Regions from separate parts of the Homo sapiens genome. Here region 1 is linked to region 2. The links are contacts of gene promoters, found by promoter capture Hi-C in human tissues and cell types (Jung and others, 2019). All regions are on one chromosome and are shown on one strand. The core of a region is centred on a gene start or on the middle of the fragment in contact, and the rest is flanking DNA. Distances in the headings are between cores, read along the strand shown.

The links. The method cuts DNA at HindIII sites, captures the fragments that hold promoters and counts their contacts. A contact is called where the count stands out against the background at its distance.
Region 1: a fragment that was not itself captured here is called in contact with the fragment with the promoter of DMC1 in region 2 in 1 of the 25 tissues and cell types used here (aorta).

What each region holds. Positions count from the first base shown.
Region 1 is chr22:38,325,973-38,329,652 of GRCh38, reverse strand. The region is part of intron 5 of TPTEP2-CSNK1E (TPTEP2-CSNK1E readthrough); the gene reads left to right. Among named protein-coding and RNA genes, the nearest start is that of CSNK1E, 10 kb to the right of the region's middle. RefSeq lists an enhancer at 1,626-2,137. The HindIII fragment of the contact is 5,320 bases long and covers 1-3,680 here.
Region 2 is chr22:38,568,215-38,571,786 of GRCh38, reverse strand. It overlaps DMC1 (DNA meiotic recombinase 1), which reads left to right and starts at 1,604. Exons shown (of 14, transcript NM_007068.4): 1 at 1,604-1,744; 2 at 3,498-3,572. The coding sequence starts at 3,531. It overlaps LOC105373031 (a long non-coding RNA gene), which reads right to left and starts at 1,287. Exons shown (of 2, transcript NR_134627.1): 1 at 1,193-1,287; 2 at 429-1,034. RefSeq lists enhancers at 869-918, 505-1,015 and a silencer at 1,319-1,608. The HindIII fragment of the contact is 22,042 bases long and covers 1-3,572 here.

The DNA of each region.
Region 1 (3,680 bases), core at 764-3,263, 240 kb after region 2:
CTGCCTCAGCCTCCTAAGTAGCTGGGAGTACAGGTACGTACCACCATGCCCAGCTAATTTTTTGTGTTTTTAGTAGAGACAGGGTTTAACCATGTTAGCTAGGATGGTCTTGATCTCCTGATCTCGTGATCTGCCCACCCCGGCCTCCCAAACTGCTGGAATTACAGGCGTGAGCCACTGCGCCAGGCCCTTCCTAACTTTTATGCATTATTTGGTCAGATTCTCTTAAACTCTCTGAGCCTCGGGTTTCCTCCTTTTTTTTTTTTTTTTTTTTGACAGGATCTTATTCTGTTGCCCAGGCTGGAGTGCAGTGGCATGATCTTGGCTCATTGCAGCCTCGATCTCCTGGCCTCAAGCGATCCTCTCTCCTCAGCCTCCTGAGTAGCTGGGACCATAGGCATGTGCCACCATGCCCAGCTAATTTTTTTATTTTTTGAATAGAGACAGGGTCTCCCTTGTTGCCTGAACTGATCTTGAACTCCTTGTGAACCTCAGGTTTCTACCTGCAAAATGGGCAGGGTGATCTCCAGCTCACAGGATTCCTGTGGCATTTATTAAACCAGATTCAGTGCTGAGTACCCAGTGGGGAGCCTGCACGCTGTCCATCCAGTAAATCCTAGTTTTTTTCTCTCCTCTTGTCCATGAGCAAAACTCTAAGCTGTTCTGAGCAAAGCCATTGGCTAAATCTCCTAGTCAGCTCCTGGGATTAGAGATCCTCTTACCTCTTCCATCCTCTTCAGCCTTCTCCCCTGAGGGAGGCCTGGGTGCCATTTGACTGGTCTCCCCACAGTGGGCCCTTCCCACCCCCAAATATCCGAGGTTCCTACCGTTCAGCTATTGCTCAGGGCTGTTCCTTCCCCCCAGCCAACCACCATCCAGATCCCCCCTACATTTATTTATTTATTTATTTATTTATTTATTTAATTTGTTTATTTTTTATTGAGACTGAGTCTTGCTCTGTCACCCAGGCAGGAGGGCAGTGGCACAATCTTGGCTCACTGCAACCTCTGCCTCCCTGGTTCAAGTGATTCTCCTGCCTCAGCCTCCCGGGTAGCTGGGACTACAGGTGCGTGCCACCACGCCCGGTTAATTTTTTGTATTTTTAGTAGAGACGGGGTTTCTCCATGTTGGTCAGGCTAGTCTTGAACTCCCGAGCTCAGGTAATCTGCCCGCCTTGGCCTCCCAAAGTGCTGGGGGTACAGGCGTGAGCCACCGTGCCCGGCATCCCACCTACTTTCAAGTCCTGCCTCCTCCCTTCCACCCCCGTGTCAACTTCAGAATTTCTCTATAGACAGGGCTTAGGGAGACAGTCTGATGGCAGGGGAAGCAGGGGTCGGAGACTTGTCTCAGTGCTGTATTTGTGTAGCACTTCACATAAAATTACAAGAATAGCAACTGCCCACATCACAAAATGCCCAGGGCGAAGGGGAGACGGCTGCTCGCCAGCCATTGGCACCACCACTGCCCCCAGACACTGACTTTCCTGTGGCGGTCACTGTCTAGCGTATTCTCTCAATACTGTAGGACCCTCTTTTTTCTTGTGTCTATTCAGCCTCTCCTGTCGGATCGTCAGCTCCTGGCAAGCTGGGGCCGGCGCAGACCTCTGAGGCCCTGCAAGGAGTTGGCATCAGGAAATGCTTGTGGGTGAACGTGTGATGTGGCAGGATGATGAGTCGCACCAACTATGCCGAGCGAGGAGCGCTGCTGTGGGCATCGGGATTATTAGTCGCAGCAATCATCCTCATTCCCGGAGCCCAGCTAATGAGTGGTTGTGTGAGCTGGGAACGGGAAGCCCTGGCTTCTCAGAGGACAGAAGGAGCAGGTTTGGGCGCTGGTTGACTGCAGCACAAACAAGGGATGTTGTGATGAGCAGAGGGGTCAGAGGAGCCCATAGGGCCGGGGGTGACAGGCCAAGCTGAGGGAAGGAAGCAGGCAGAGGTGAGCTGGAGGCCGGGCACGGGTGGCCCTTTGGGGATGCCAAGGATTTGTGTAGTGCTCCCTGCTCCTGGGGACACGTGACAGGCGCTCCTGGCTCCTCTGGGAGTTGCAACAGCACAGGGAATGCTGAGTGGAGCAGGAGGACAGAGGGCCCCAGCAGAGCAGGAGGACAGGCAGCCACCGTGAGAAGGGATGGGTGGGGCAAGGTGGCCCTGAGGGAGGGCTGTTAGGGAACATCTGGCTCAGGATGGAAAGTGTCAGGCCCTGCCTTCACCCCTGAGATCACACACACAACATCACCATTGCACAAGTATTTACGGGGCACCCATGACCAGTTGGGTACCCACAGGAGCACCTATGGGAGATTTCTCTGTCTTGGAGAGACCCTAAGAGCATTAAAAATGAACAAGTTAATGTTTCAGCCAGTCATAAGTACCATGAAGAAGATAAAGCAGCTGGCCAGGCACGGTGGCTCACACCTGTAATCCCAGCACTTTGGAAGGCCGAGGCGGGCGGATCACGAGGTCAGGAGTTCCAGACCAGCCTGACCAATATGGTGAAACCCCGTCTCCACTAAAAATACAAACATTAGCTGGGCGTGGTGGTGCGCGCCTATAATCCCAGCTACTCAAGAGGCTGAGGCAGGAGCATCGCTTGAACCTGGGAGGCGGAGGTTGCAGTGAGCCAAGATCGCGCCACTGCACTCCAGCCTGACGACAGACTGACTCCGTATCAAAAAAAAAAAAAAAAAAAAAAAGCAGGATATCCCCAGTACAGGAAGGACAGAGGGGAAGGAAGCCCACTGAAGACCAGTCAAGGAGGGCTTCTGTGCAGAGGTGACTTTTGAGTTGTGATCTGAGCCCTGAGTAGGAGGCAGTCATGGAGGATTTGGGGAGATCATTGTAGGCAGAGGAACAGCCAGGCAAAGGCCCTGAGGCATGGTGAGATGACAGACAGTGAGGGAGGGAGAGTGAGGTTTGAAATGGGGTCTGAGGCAGGCAGGGGCTAGATCATAGCAGGCCCTGGGAAAGAATGTGAATTTCATGCTAAGGGAAGAAGGAGCCACTGGTGTATTTTCAGTAGCCACAGTCAGATCTCAGTGGTTAACAGGCCACTGTAGTAGCCAAGTGGAAGACACACGTGGTAAGAGTGGCTGGGTTCAGAATCCAGTTGGAAGGTAGAGCTCATGGGAGCTGCTCAGGTTTTGAATATGGGGGTAAGGGGTGCGGGGAGAGCCGTTTCCCACTGAGCCCAGATTTGTCACCTCAAGGTCTTTCTCAGCTTAGTGCCCGGGATGTGGAGTGTAGGGTCCTTGCCCATCCAGCCCTGCCCTTAGCTTCAGCTGGGGAGACTGAGAGCTTTAGCACTCACTTTGTCCAGCTCCTCAGAGAAGGGCTGTGGATTCTCCAAGGTCGCGCTGAAATTCAGACTGACCAGGGACCAAACCCAGACCTTGCTACCCTGCCCTGCTGCCTCTCCGCTGAAGATGGAAGAGGAGGGAGGAAGCCCTGGCAGGAGTGACCTGACCGGGCACGGCCCAGTGGTGAGGTTCCCTGGAAGAAGTGCCTGAAAAGAGAGCCTGGGGCCAAAGCTGTGCCCTGGGAATAGTGAGGGGTGGGTAGGATGTCATGGAAGGGTCTGGGGACAAAGAGCCAAGGCCTAGCTGGGTAAGGAGAGGAGAGTGCCCCAGGACAGCATCTTCAGGCTGGCAGGGCTGGGGGCGGGGGAACCTCTGGAGCCTG
Region 2 (3,572 bases), core at 355-2,854:
GATATTCAGAGTTTTTGTATGATACGAAAGACAATTTTTTTGGTTCCGATTTTAGTGGAAAGTCTTCATGTGCACTTTTTAACTGTCCTAGAGTTTGTTGTTGTTTTAAATATCTTAAAAGTTGTCTCTAACCATCGATATGATACCCAGATAAGATTTTTCTCCTCCCTTCATGAATTTGTCATTACCCAGCTCATTTTAGTTTTTTTAAGTGTACTGCACACAACCTTCAAATATTATGAACATTTCTCTCTCCCAGCTGTCACTACACCAAACTACATATGTTATATTTCCCTAAATCATCTTGCTGTGCTCTTTGCAGCTCTTCTGTAGACTGTTGATGTCTTCACCTAACGAGTTGCTCAAAAGTTCCCATAATTATTTAGGTGAGGCCTCAGAGCGAAAGCCTTTCACCACTATCCAGTTCCTCCCCCAAATGGGCATTCATCTCCATATAACAAGGACGACTGTGTTTGGGGGAAAATAACAGATTTGGAAGCACAATGGCAGTTATTTGTTGGCTCTTAAAACAATCCACCTGTTGGGGGGGTGCGTCCTACACAAAATGCCAACTGCTATTGTGGGAATGTTTTGCTATTTATTCCACCAAAATGATTCAGACAGAAAAAACAAAAAGGATCGCCCTGTACTAGGTCTTGAACCCAAAGAACTGTTTGCACAGAGATTCATCCAAGATACATCACAGCCTCCACCTCGGCAGCTGCTCTCTCAAATGTTTCCTGACTCTCCCCAAGTCAGTCTCCGCGTGAGGGGAGGAGGAGGATGCTGCCAGCGATGGCGCTGCTGGCACGAAGGCTGGCCTGCGACTTCTATTTAAAAGCTGAACCAAAATATACTTGGCGTCTGTGGTCTATTTAAAACTTCAAGTTAAGACAGAGAAAAAATTACTCTCCATCCTGAATGGGCCTCGGGTGTCTCAATCACAGACAAGAGTGGCAAATGGTGAGAGTCAGAAAGTGGGAAATTAGGAACGCTGAGGGAGCACGGCCAAACTCTGAAGCCAGCATGAAAACCTGGAGGTGAAAAGAGAAGCCATGGGCAGCGGGGGCGGGGGGAAACGGGCCCGGATTCGACCTTCTAAGCCAAGGCTCCATCTGCAACCCTCGCGACCAAGACCTATCGCCAAAGTCAGCCACCTCTGCTCATCGCCCCTCCCCCGACTCAAGGCTACCTCCTCAGAACCCCGCCTCAGGGTCTTCTCCCGGACTTTAGCGAGGTGCTCAGCTCGAGGGACGCCCCAGCTCAACGGTCTCCCTTCAAGGCCCCGCTCCTCAGCGCGCTCCTTCCACAGCGCCCCTCCCTCCCTCCCTCCGTCATCCCAGCTCGCCACCCGCTGGGGCTCCTCTTCGTTTTCCGCGCCTCAGCCCTCGCCCCGCCCCCTCGCCCTGAGCCCCCTCCAGGCCACGCCCTCTGGTCCCCCCACCTGTGAGCCCGCTCGTTCCCCGCCCTTCGGTCTTCGCCCCGCCCCCATTGCTCCCCGCCCCTCGTCGCCCTCTGTAGGCCTGCTCCCTCCCCGCCCTTCCACCCTCACCCTGCGCCCCGCCCCGGCCCCTTGGTCCTCGCCCCGCCCTCCTCGTTTGGCGCCAAACCCTGTGGTCAACGGCGCGCGGGTCTCCAGGCTCCGTGTTCTAGGCCCGAGTTAGAATCCTGTCAGCTGAGGAGGTCGGGCGGGGCAGAGGGGCTTCACCTTGAAAATCTCGGGGAGACTGTGGGTACGAGGGGGGTAAGTGGCAAAAACGAACAGCGTGCGAAGACTCTGAGGGGACGCTCGTTTTGAGAAGGCGCGCTTCCCTTTCTCGCTCCTTTTTTGGGGTCCCTGGGCTAGTGACTTTGAGCGTTCCGCTCCGACCTTTGGGGAGGAATTTTAGTGATCTTGAGGGATTTCCAACCTCATTTTCAATCGAATCGGACCTGAGTCTAGGAGAGCCCGCCTCATCCTCCTGACCAGGGAATCCGGTGTCAGGAAAATGTCCGGCGGCCGCAGGGGGTCTGCCCAGGCCTCCTGCTGAGGGAGGCGTCGAGGGCGACCCGACCGCGCTGCTGCCCCCACCAGAGGGGACAGCTGGGTCGTCTTAAACCGGGGGATTGGGGAGCCCTACTTTCAATCCAACGGTTCAGTCTATCAACGGCTCCTTGAGAGATGGGGGACAATCTTTTCATTTCATCACGGGGAGAAGAAATGAATGCTGTTTTTCTCTTCGATGGGGACAGTAAATGTGGAATTGGGGTACTCATAGCTAGCCATCTGAAGGACAGTGTCCCCGAAGATCCCATCCGAACGGTCTCGGTTGCCTTCCATCCTTTGCCGTTTGAGGTGCTGGGTGGTAGGACCCTGCTCCTGCCTTAGTATTAATGGTTCGTTCCCTTTGTTCTAGGGTCCAACCCCTGACTTTGGTATCAAATGAGGAAATGGAATCGACCAAGAAAAATGATGATTTGGACCGCATTTTATTGTAATAAATAAACACAATCACGCCTTGTGGATTCCTGAGATTTCTTTTTGAGTCTACAATGTTAAAAACTTTAACTGCTTATCAGCCTTAATATAATATTATGATCCACCAATTTTTTTTTTTTTTTTTGAGACTGAGTCTCGCACTGTCGCCCAGGCTGGAGTGCAGTGGCATGATCTCGGCTCAGTGCAACCTCCGCCTCCCAGGTTCAAGCGATTCTCCTGCCTCAGCCTCCCAAGTAGGTGGGATTACGGGCGCCCACCACCACGCCCGGCTAATTTTTTTGTATTTTTAGTAGAGACGGGGATTGGCCAGGCTGGTCTCGAACTCCTGACCTCGTGATCTGCCTGTCTCGGCCTCCCAAAGTGCTGGGATTACAGGCATGAGCCTCCACACCCGGACCACCATATTTTTAAATCTTAAAAAAATCATGAAACTAGTAAATACTGTGAAAGAAAGTATAGCTAATGTTCTATGAAACAAAAAGGTGGATGTTACAGGAGTACCCATTCATAATCAGCAGGCAGGAAGGCATTCATCATAGATGAGAAAAATAGAATCCATTTATTGAGGACAAAGTTGGAGGTGTCAGGGAGGACACAAGGAAGAATGATATAATGTCAAGGTTCCTAGAGTATTGTTGTTAAACATAAACAAGAAAGGTTAAAAGCAATATGCAATTCTAAATAACATTCAAGGCAGTAATAAAGTCATGATTAGCTGTGCAATGGAAACCAGATGATAAGTGATCACTGTTGGGGAAAGAGAAGAAACTAAATAAGCACCCCCCAATTTGCCCCTCAGGCATCTGTGTGCATGTGGGGACACACACACACATGCACACACACACACACACACACAAGAAATAATGTCACATGTCTCGCAGAAAGAAGATAGGCTGGCCTCATCTTTCCAAGCTAAATGCTTCTCTTACTGTCCTTCTAGTCCTTGTTGACTTTGAAATGAAATCAGAGGCCCCTGGACAAAGGACTACTTCTTACATAATATTTCTTATTTTCCCAGAAGTGATTATTTTTCTGTTGCCCACTTTTCAATATGAAGGAGGATCAAGTTGTGGCGGAAGAACCAGGATTCCAA